Regions from separate parts of the Homo sapiens genome. Here regions 2 and 3 are each linked to region 1. The links are contacts of gene promoters, found by promoter capture Hi-C in human tissues and cell types (Jung and others, 2019). All regions are on one chromosome and are shown on one strand. Each heading gives the region's core, a stretch centred on a gene start or on the middle of the fragment in contact. The rest is flanking DNA. Distances are from core to core; before and after follow the strand shown.

Evidence for each region. Contacts are between HindIII fragments. The study calls those that stand out against the background at their distance.
Region 2: a contact is called between a fragment that was not itself captured here and the fragment with the promoter of CCDC136 in region 1, in 2 of the 25 tissues and cell types used here (bladder and thymus).
Region 3: a fragment that was not itself captured here is called in contact with the fragment with the promoter of CCDC136 in region 1 in 4 of the 25 tissues and cell types used here (bladder, heart right ventricle, mesendoderm cells and 1 more).

The regions. Positions count from the first base shown.
Region 1 is chr7:128,790,229-128,793,656 of GRCh38, reverse strand. CCDC136 (coiled-coil domain containing 136) reads right to left here and starts at 1,689. Exons shown (of 18, transcript NM_022742.5): 1 at 1,230-1,689. The coding sequence starts at 1,245. RefSeq lists silencers at 2,306-2,574, 2,113-2,582. The HindIII fragment of the contact is 16,505 bases long and covers 1-3,428 here.
Region 2 is chr7:128,855,042-128,858,460 of GRCh38, reverse strand. FLNC (filamin C) reads right to left here. Exons shown (of 48, transcript NM_001458.5): 43 at 3,147-3,262; 44 at 1,811-1,943; 45 at 1,540-1,716; 46 at 1,125-1,343; 47 at 244-453; 48 at 1-125. All of the region lies in intron 1 of FLNC-AS1 (FLNC antisense RNA 1), which reads left to right. Among named protein-coding and RNA genes, the nearest start is that of FLNC-AS1, 5.9 kb to the left of the region's middle. RefSeq lists an enhancer at 1-268. The HindIII fragment of the contact is 9,938 bases long and covers 1-3,419 here.
Region 3 is chr7:128,715,039-128,718,061 of GRCh38, reverse strand. GARIN1B (golgi associated RAB2 interactor 1B) reads right to left here and starts at 2,671. Exons shown (of 7, transcript NM_001282788.3): 1 at 2,372-2,671; 2 at 1,065-1,249. The coding sequence starts at 2,620. The HindIII fragment of the contact is 6,852 bases long and covers 1-3,023 here.

The DNA.
Region 1 (3,428 bases), core at 440-2,939:
AGCCTGGGCAACAGAGTGAGTCTCCGTCTCAAACAAACAAACAAACAAAAACAACCAAACAAAAACTATCCAGGTGGCTTGTGAAAAATCAGCCTTTCCATAATAAGAAAACATTGCCCGTCAGCAGGTAGAGAAAGAAAATATCTGATTGTAGAGGTTTCATTGGACAAACTCGGGCGCCCTTTCAAATGTATATTATTAAATACCTGTTTGAAATTTTCTACAAGGTCCACCTTGTTTTTCCCTGCTGCATGTCACAAGGTCTCCTCTCCCCTAGCTGAGCCATATGAGGCCCCTCCTACTCTGCTGACCACAAAGTAGATTTCAGGGGAAGTTTTAGGCTGTACTTGTGTGTAAAAGAAAGCCTACCATTTTAATGCATTAAAAAAACTGGGGTTTGGTGCTGGCCCCCAGCCTCTGGTTGTGAGCACCCGCTCCTTTACTGCAACGCAGTCCCTATAAATAGCAAAATGTTGTCTGGATGGTGATTGTTTGCTTTGTTTTAAAATTCTGAATCTCTGGTCTTACTTTATCTAATATCAGCAGCCTTAGGTTCAACTGGGACCCTTCGTGCCATCTGTCCCCCTTAGGGGGAGCAGGTTTGCCCATACTGAATGTGCAACGTGCAACACTTCACAGGAAGTACTGGCAAATGGACCAGCGTCCTTCCAGGGGCCTGGTGTTGGCAGCAACTGCCAAGTCACATGGGTGTGGTGGGGATACACGTGTGTTGGGAGGATGGCCTCACGCGCCCCCTCCTAGGCTCTCTCTTTCAGGCAATAAGGTATCCTAAAGAACCAAAGCCACAGGCTTCCATTCGAAGTTAATGTTGGTGGCCCCAGAAAGACAATTCACATGCCCAGTTCCTTGCTTTTTAAAATAAGAGACAGCTTGGGATCTGGGTCGGCAGGCAGTGAGGACAAACCCCCTGCTGAAAGGCTGCTTCAAAGCTCTGTCCAACAAGGCCTCTTTCTCTGTCTGGCAGCTCCCTCGGGACACATAACCTGGTTAGCTGGGGGGTGATTGGGGTCCCGAAGGGATGCATCCTGAACTTCTGTCAAAGCCTGAGCCCTGGGAAGGGCTGGAGCTCTGAGCTGCAGGAAGAGGGGCTAAGATGAACTGAGGGAAGGGCTGTGTCCTGGCTCAGAGGCCTGGGGGTCAGAGGGAGGAAAGAAGGGAATTAAGGGAGGAGGGGAGGGGAAAGAAAGAAGCCTTTTGGGAAAACTCACCCTCCATAGCTTGCATCCCCCGTCGTTCCAGGGACCCCCAGCGTTGGCCCTTCTTCCTCTCACAGCCCTCGGAAGCCTCATAGGAGCCTAGAGTGGTCACTGTGGGTCCTGAGAGCAGGGAGAAAGGAGGGGCTGGGGGGTGGGGGGCTGGCTGCGGGCTGGGGTGCAGAGGAAAGAAGGGGACATGTCTTCCAGCTCCTCGAGGCTCTGGGATCTGTAATCCCAGTGGAGGTGCCTGACTCACTCTGGCGGCTCTGCGACTCCTCTCTCTCGGCCACCTCTCAGCCCTGCCTCCCAGCCTCCTCAGAACCCGCTGTTCCAGGACCCTCTTGCTTGCACAGAAAGAAAGAGGGGGTGTGCGTATTTAGTCCGGGGGGACAGGGAGGAGAGGGCCAAGACTGAAAGAGGGCGGGAGCCAGTGAAGAAGAGGCTGAAAGGCTGAGGTGGCCTACAGATGGAGGGAGGGAGGAGTGGGGGGCGTGCGGGAAGGGGTAGGGCTGCGACCGCTCCCCTCCCCTCTCCTCCCATTCTCTCGCTGGACCTTGCCCACCCCACCCTCGCCCCGCGCTCAGGAGTCTCCGGGGCTGCAGGAGGTGTAGGGTCTGCAGTCCCGAAGGCTGGAAGCACCGTCGGACTGAAGTGGAGAGACGCGCTGGGGAGGGACCACCAGGCAGGATGCGGCCGGTGCGCGGAAGCCTCAGTCCCAGGCCGGAAGGATGGAGACCGGGCCCCGGTGGAGGCCAGGATGGAGGGAGGAAGACTTTGGGCGGAGAAAGGGGAGCCGCGGAGGCCGGGAGCACCTGGGGGTCTGGAAGGAGGAGGGATGGAGGAGAGAAAGGAGGGGCGGTAGACAGGTGACGGAGGGGCGGCTCTGACCTGGGCCCGGGCAGCTCCAGCCCGCGGCTCCCGCGCCGGCTCCGGCGCCCGCCTCCATGACCGCTCCCGCCGCCGCCTTCCGCCTCCCTGAGCAGAAGCCGCAGCCGCGAGCCCGGGGACCCGAGCCGGGTGCGCAGGGAGGGAGGGAGGGCGGACGAGGGGGCGGGGCCTGGCCGGGCCTCCTGACACCGCCCCCCGCCGCTCGCCGCCGCCCGGAAGCCCTCCCAGCACTCGGGAGCTCCGAGCCCGTGCAGGGGGCGGCGCGGGAGGGTGAGCGCGACCCCGGATACGCCCCAAGGCTCTCCCCTAGAGAGCGCGGGGAGCCGCGGGGCCCGGACAGCGTCAGGAGCTCCTAGGCTTATGGCTGCCCCAAGAGGGAGGAGCGAGATCCCCTGGTTCTGGCGGCGGGTCCCCCCGGGGTCTGCTGTGCCCAGGGACCCTTCTGCACCAGGTGTCAGGGCCCGGTCATGCTCAGCAATGGGGACGGCAAAGGACGAGGTGGGACTGTTTCCTCCAAAAGCGCAGACACGCGCGCCCCTCCTTCCCTCCCTCCCCCGCCCGGCCGGCGCCCCCACCTAGCAGTCCGCGCTGACTCCGGCCCCAGGCCCTGCCCACCCCTGCCCGGTGGCCCCTCGGCAGCCTGGGGGCCGGAGGAGGGAAGTCGAGGCCCGGATGGGCGAACGGCAGGGCCCTGACCTCTCCGCTTTCCGCGACCCCCCACCGAGCCAGGGCCAAGGACCCTCTTAGGAGGAGCCCTCCGGTGGCCCCATCAAGCCTCAGGGCCGGAAGACCCCCTCTCCTCCGCCCTGTCTTCCCTTCCGGTCCCACACCCGGTGGGCTGCGAGCCACGCCCCCACAGTAGCCCGCTCAGAGTGGGCACGACTGATGTTCACTCTCGTGGAAGGGAGATTTGGAAGCCCAGGGGGCTTATTTCACGTCTTCAACCATTCGTTTATTCAGGCTATGACTACTGGGTGCCGGCTCTTGAAGAGGCAGTTCTCACATCTCGGCAGGTCTCGGCAAGGATAGAAGTGGGCACAGTTGGGAACAGGGGCTCCCCAGCACATCCAGGAAATGGCTGGAAGATTCCTAAGCCAGGGACACACGCGGATCCCCTCTCTGGCACATCCACTCACAGGTCGAGGGCTAGTATTGTCTGCGTTCCCCCCGCTGCAGGAAAGGGATCCGGATCCAGACCGCAACAGAGGGTTCTTGAATCTCACGCAAGAAAGAATTCAGGGAGGTCCATAGGATAAACTAAAAGCAAGTTTATTAGGAAAGTAAAGGAATAAAGAATGGCTACTCCATAGACAGAGCAGCCCC
Region 2 (3,419 bases), core at 621-3,120, 65 kb before region 1:
GATGTAGTCCCCTTTCTCCTTGACAGTGTAGGTGACATTGTACACCCGGTTCCCCATGTGCTTCACGTACACCTCCTCACAGGGGGTCTTGGGGCCGTGCACGCCCACCATCATCATGTTGGTGCCTGGAGAGGGAGGCAGAGGGACAGGCTCACACCAGGGAGTCCCCTACTGTGACCCACACCCTGCTCCCTGACGGCTTCTTGCTCACACCCCGGGAGACGCCCTCCCCCCGCCACCTGCCTGCTTTGCTGCAGTCCACGGTGAAGGAGTTCTTCTGGCCCACGAAGGCCTGGGACAGCCCAGGGCCCCGAGTCACCACCTTGCTGGCATCTGAGGAGAACTTGGGGATGGAGCTGTAGCTGGAGCCCCGGCTTGAGGAGGACTTGGTCACAGTCTCCACCAGAACCGTGGATGTTTCGTGAAGGCTGTGGCCTCCGGACAGCCTCGGACCTGAGGGGTGGGTGGAGGGGGCACAAACCTAGTCAGAAGGGCTTCCTGTTCTTCCCCAGGCAGGGGACCCTCGGCCAGCACTGCCACCCTGTGGGACTCACTGCCTGCATTTGAGGCTCCCCCTCAAATTCCTCCAAGGGCCACTCTAGGAGCACAGCCTCATTCCCAGCCAGGGCCCTGAGCTGCCAGCTCCAACTGGTGCTCCACCCTAGGGCTGGGGCCTCAGATGCTGCGTCCCTCATCCTTGCAGGCTTTGTCTGGGAACTCAGGCTAACTCACAGGGTAAGAGCCACTTTACAAAGGAACACCCACCCAACTCATCCTACAGACAGCCTCAAGAGGGGAAGCTTGCTCAATACCGACTGTGTCTTCTTGGAGCGGAGGAATATGGGAAGCCAGGAGGGAAGAAAGTGGTGCTAGAGCCTGAGGAGCCAGCGCAGGCCAGAGCTGAAGGAGTGAGGGGCCACGATGGAGAGGAAGAATGGCATTTTTACGTGATCATGCCCGACTCCACAGAACGTGTACTGTGTAGAGCCAGGCCCACCTCTAGCCCTGGTAAACTGACCATGATGTCTGGGGGCAGACTATGGCCTAGATGTGCGTGGCCACCGGAGCCCTCCAGGCTGGGCTGGGCTGCAGGCTGGGTGGACCTCCCCCAAACTGGCACTCACCAGTGACCTTGGCCTTGAAGGGGCTGCCCACGATGTGCTGGGGGCCACCGTACTTGATGGCAATGAGGTAGTTGCCAGGGGCCATGGGAGTATAAGTGACCACATGGCCCTCAGGACACTCCCGACAGTCCAGCTGCACCTTGGAGGGGCCATCAATGGTGACAGACAAGGCCCCCGAGCCGGCATTCAGGGTGTTCACGATGAACTCTGATGACACACCTGGGGGCCAGAGGTAGCAAGGCTGAGGGCAGGAAGGGCTTGTGGCCCAAGAGGGACTGGGCCCCAGCTCCCTGGACAGCCTCTGTGGGGACTCCTGGCTTAGGAAGCAGGGCCCCTACCTCTGGAGCAAAGCAGCACCAGACTAGTGGCCAAGCACCCCCAGAAGTCACCCTGTTCCCCAGCTCCAGGCACTCACCGGTAGTGCCTCCCTCGAGCCCAGGACCGTAGGCTGACACCAAGCCTGGGTCCCCAGCCTGGCTCTGCTCCCCAACGCGGATCTTGAAGGGACTTCCAGGGATGTGGGCACCGTTGAACTTGACATCGATGGAGTGGACGCCATTCTCGTGGGGGATGAAGCGGATGGTGTGCTTGTCTGTGGATAAAGGGTTGGTGGCTTAGCCTCCATCCTTCCCCTCCCCAGAAGGCCCCAGCCCGGAAGGGAGTTGGCAGGGGCAGGGCCAGCTCACCACTGTCCAGCTCAGAGACGTAGCACTCCTCCACAGCCCCCGAGGGTGTGTGCACCCGGGCATCAATCACGCCCCGGGCACCGTTCAGCTGCACGGCAAAGGACGCTGGCTGGTTCACCTTGAGCCCCGTCTCCTGCAAAGGCCACGGAGGATGCTCAGACTCCTGGGAGGCCGGGGCTGGAGCAGTCTTCTCTGAAGCCCCACACGGTGCTCACTGTAAGCCCAGCCCAAAGGCTGCTGCCACCCCATGCCCAGCCTGGCCCCTGCCTGCCAGCCCAGCCTGGGAGCAGGAGGAGCCAGGGTCCGGTATGCAACCCTATGTGTGCACCTGCTATCCTAGCTGTGCTTGGTGTGTGGGAGATGACAGACGATGTGCCCTGTCCTGGCTGAGGAAGGAAGGGCCCCACTCTGTGTGAAGCAGGCTGAGGGCGGAGGGCAAGTGCCTGATGGGCTGTGTGGGCTGGGGGTGCCAGAGAGCTCTGAGGTAGGAAGCTGAGTTTCACTGGCCTGGCCTGGGAGAGCTTCCTGGAGAAGGTGGACCAACAGGGAGGACCAGAAGAAGCACAGAAGGGCTCTGGGGGAGGGATTGGAGCCTGCATCGGGGAGCCCAGTTCAGGAGTGGGAGGAGGAGATGCACAAGGACTCTGGATGGGCCAATGTGACCACCCTGAGGGGCAGCCAGGAGGCGCGTGGGAGAAGGAGGTGGGGTGAAGCCCATTCTGTGCGCCTTATGCAGAAGCTCCTTTACAATGTGTCCCCTGGACACCTGGCCCCCTGGTTTGCATGTTTCAGTGTGACTTGCTGAAAGCCTTCCTTGCACATGTCCGCTGTGACAGAATGAAAGGAACACACCACATCTCTAGAAGTCAGCAGCAAGAGAAAGCAAGCCAGGCCCCCAGCGGCCTGAAGAGGATGCAGCCCAGGCTCTGCAGCCCATAGGCATTCCCTTTAGAGGAGCCTCTCACACCCTCTGTGCAAACTGGTTTACTCTTAGTTTGTATAGATTTTATGCTCTCATTCTTATAAATGTTGTCATCTAGCATTCTTACAACAGAAGGTGGAACAAACTGTAACAAGAAATGGCAGGTGGCAGTAGGACAGGCAGACACACCCTGAGAAAGGCAGAACGAGGCGTGGCATGCCTGAGTGCACGGGCAAGCCCCCAGGGTGGGAGCCCACCGTCCCCAAGGGCCCTGCCTCGTGCCTTATGAGAAGGGACTCCTAACTGGCCCTTCCAAGGTCACTGCTAAATCCCTGGCCCCATGGACCTGCTGTCCTCAACTCCTGCCCATCTCTCAGATAGCAGAAACCCTCCACCCCCACCCTGGGCACAAACCTGGAGGCTGGTGACAGTGAGACGGCGAGCGTCATCCGAGAGGGAGGCCACAGGCACCACAAAGGGGCTGTCTGGGATGTGCTCATCATTGAACTTGATGGAGACCTCATAGTCACCTGGGGAGAGAGACCAGTCAGCACAGGTTCCGGGATGGAGGTTGGCAGGGCGGGAGCCTCCCCACCCTGGCCTTATCCCAGGAAAGGCTCTGTGGTCAGCGCTCAGATCTGGAGGCAGACACATGTTTCTGAGGGTGTGGGGTAGAGGGAGACGGGG
Region 3 (3,023 bases), core at 366-2,865, 76 kb after region 1:
AGGGAGTTAAAGTTCAAGGATCTGGCTTTGGATCTAATATTAGTCAGCTGGGACTGGGTGGTACTTGCTAGAGGTACACCAAGAACATCATGGAGAGGTGTGTCACTGAGGTAGCATGGAGAAATGAAGGGTTTTCTTGGACTTTTGGGAATTTCTAGAGATTCTTGAGATATCCTACAGATTATTTAAAGAGGCCCCAAAATTTAAAAAGGCTACTTCGTCCCAGACAAGCATGATGTCACTATATGCTACAGCTCTAAGTGAGACTTAGTCCCATTTATTTTACTGATTAAAAAAAAAAAACAAAAAAAACCTGGCCGGGCACAGTGGCTCACGCCCGTAATCCCAGCACTTTGGGAGGCTGAGGAGGGTGGGTCACCTGAGGTCAGGAGTTCAAGACCAGCCTGGCCAACATGGTGAAACCCTGTCTCTATTAAAAATACAAAAATTATCCAGGTGTGGTGGCAGGCACCTATAATCCCAGCTACTCGGGAGGCTGAGGCAGGAGAATCACTTAAACCTGTGAGGCAGAGGTTGCAGTGAGCCAAGATCCCACCATTGTACTCCAGCCTGGGCGATAGTCTTTTTTGAGACTCAGTCTCAAAAAAAAAAAAAAAGAAAGAAAGAAAAAGAAAAAGACAAAGAAAACTGAGGAGCAGCAAATAACTTGTGATTTTAAAAATTGAGTCCAGTTAGTTGTACACCAAGAACTAGAAATAATCTCCTTTCCCCAACCAGTGCTCCATCTGCCAGACTCACTGCCTCCTTGCCCTTGGGCCCAATGCTGAGAGATTTCCTATGAATTCAGTGGCGTCTGTGCAGCGAGAAAGAAAGTGGGCAGGTAGACTAGCCCCTGACTCCTGTCCACATGACATCTCCCTTTGTCCCACTTGGCCTCTGTCCTTCCAGTGCAACACCTGTCTTAGGATACTCTGTTGTCTAAAAAAATCAATGTCACTGCTGATGACATCTCTATCTTCTCCTTGAGTTTAGTAGTCAAGCAACCTCCACTTTGCATCCACCCCTCACCCCTCTTGTCCTCCATTCTCATCTGCATTGCTCACCTCTTCAGGAAGATGTTGGGGGCTATGGATGGTCTGTTCCATGTCTGGTTCTGCCCCTGGTGCCATTTGACACTGGCCATGAGTAGGATGTTGGGGAGGGGCAGGCAGGGTACCGAGGAGGTCACCCCCAGGGCCATGGTGTTGGAAGCTTTGTAGACGTCTCTCCAATTCCTGCCCCTTTTGACCTGCAACACAGCCCCCAGGCACAACCTGAGCATTTGGCAAAAGCTGCAGTCTGTTTCAGCCCAGGGTTTCTCAACCTCGACACTATTAATGTTTTGGGTTGGATATTCTTTGTTGAGGGTAGGATACTGCCCTGCACACTAAAGAATGCTTAGTAGCATCCTTGACCTCTACCTACTAGTTCTAGTAGCACTACCAGCCAAATCGTGACAATAAAAAATGTCTCCAGACATCGTCAAATGTTCCCTGGCAGTTGGGGCCAAAAATCAATTCTTGTTGATAGCCACTATATTGATTAAACAACTACTAGTATTTAAACAATATTTCAACCACCCATTTGTTAACAATTGCCCACAGGAATTACAACCCAGGAGTTCCCTGCCATCTGTCATTTCTGCCAATCCTCCCTGGACTGTTTCCTGGCCTTCTTTGAAAAATGTATCCTCTTGGTCCTTCCCCGAGGTGCCCTATTATCTCCTGCACCTTCACTGAACAGGAAGGTCCTCTCTAACTCCAAAGTGCTGTTCATTCTCGCTTCCATCCAACCAGAGGAGAGCCCAGGCAAGGAGACGAACGTGCACCGAGTGCCTGTTAGACAAGGTACTTTTCTTGCTGTATTTGCATTTCATCCTCAGGTCAGTTCAACCCTTTTACAATCAAGGGGCCAGATTCAGGCTGCACAGGTTACTTGCACAGTCACCTCCCAAGGAGAAGGCAGAGGACTGGAATCTGAGCCCAGCTGTCTCTGGGACCCCAGGTGCTGTTCTTTCGCCAATCCGCATTATTGTTCTCAAGAAGCGTCTCTTTTTACTGCCTCTTTGTTCATCTACTTCAGGTGACAGCCTGGGGGCTGAAGTAAACTGGGGGATTAGATACCAAATTCTCCACTCAGAGCAGAGGACCCCTGACCTTTCTCCCTGGGTGACAGCTGTCTGTAGGAGAAGCCCCGTCTGGGGCTCAGCAAAGCCCAGGTCAGTGAGGGTGGCCTTGCATTCCAGGTCCACTAGCTTCTCCTTGCCTCAATTCTCACTCTGCCCCAGTTTCAGGGATGGACTCTCTCAGTCATATCTTGGGAACAGGTTTCGAAGAATCAAAGAGTGCTATTCTGCGCCACCCAAGAATACCTGGATGAAGTTGCTTTCAAACACCACGGAGTCAAGAAACAGGTTGAATTCTGGAGAATGAACCACCCGGCAGAGCAGTCCCTCCTCCACACCTAGGCCCGCTCCAGGGTTCGGCTCTCCATCCACAGGCAAGAGGCCCCTGAATTCTTCCCAGGCATTCAGGGAAGGGAAGGTTGGATAGGATCTTGTGACTTTTACTGTCTTCTTTGATTTCCTCCAAGTCTTTCTATGTGGAAATGATGACAACATTTCTACACATGCTCAGGGGCCTGCTGCACATTTGTCCTGGGATCTCTGTCTCCCCTCCTGGCCTTGGGCAGCTGGCCAAGCCCTGGGACCACCAGTCAGCTCACAATGATGAATGGATGACATCATGAAAAACCAGGACAGACCTGCAGGAAGGGGAAGTGCAAAGGAGCCTCCCTTTTCCTCCAGAGAGCTTGTGTGCCTTATCCGTGCCTGGACATTCCCCAGCCCTTTTCGGAACCCCAGGACATAGTCCTCCCGGAACTTGCTGAGAAAGCAGTGAGCCAGGCAGAAAGCAAGCAAGGAGGGCTGTCAGGAAGATCCTTCCACTGCTAAGAGGAAAATGCCCTTCCTGCCTTTCAACCCTTCCTTACTCTGAATGCAACCTATCTCACACAACTTTAAA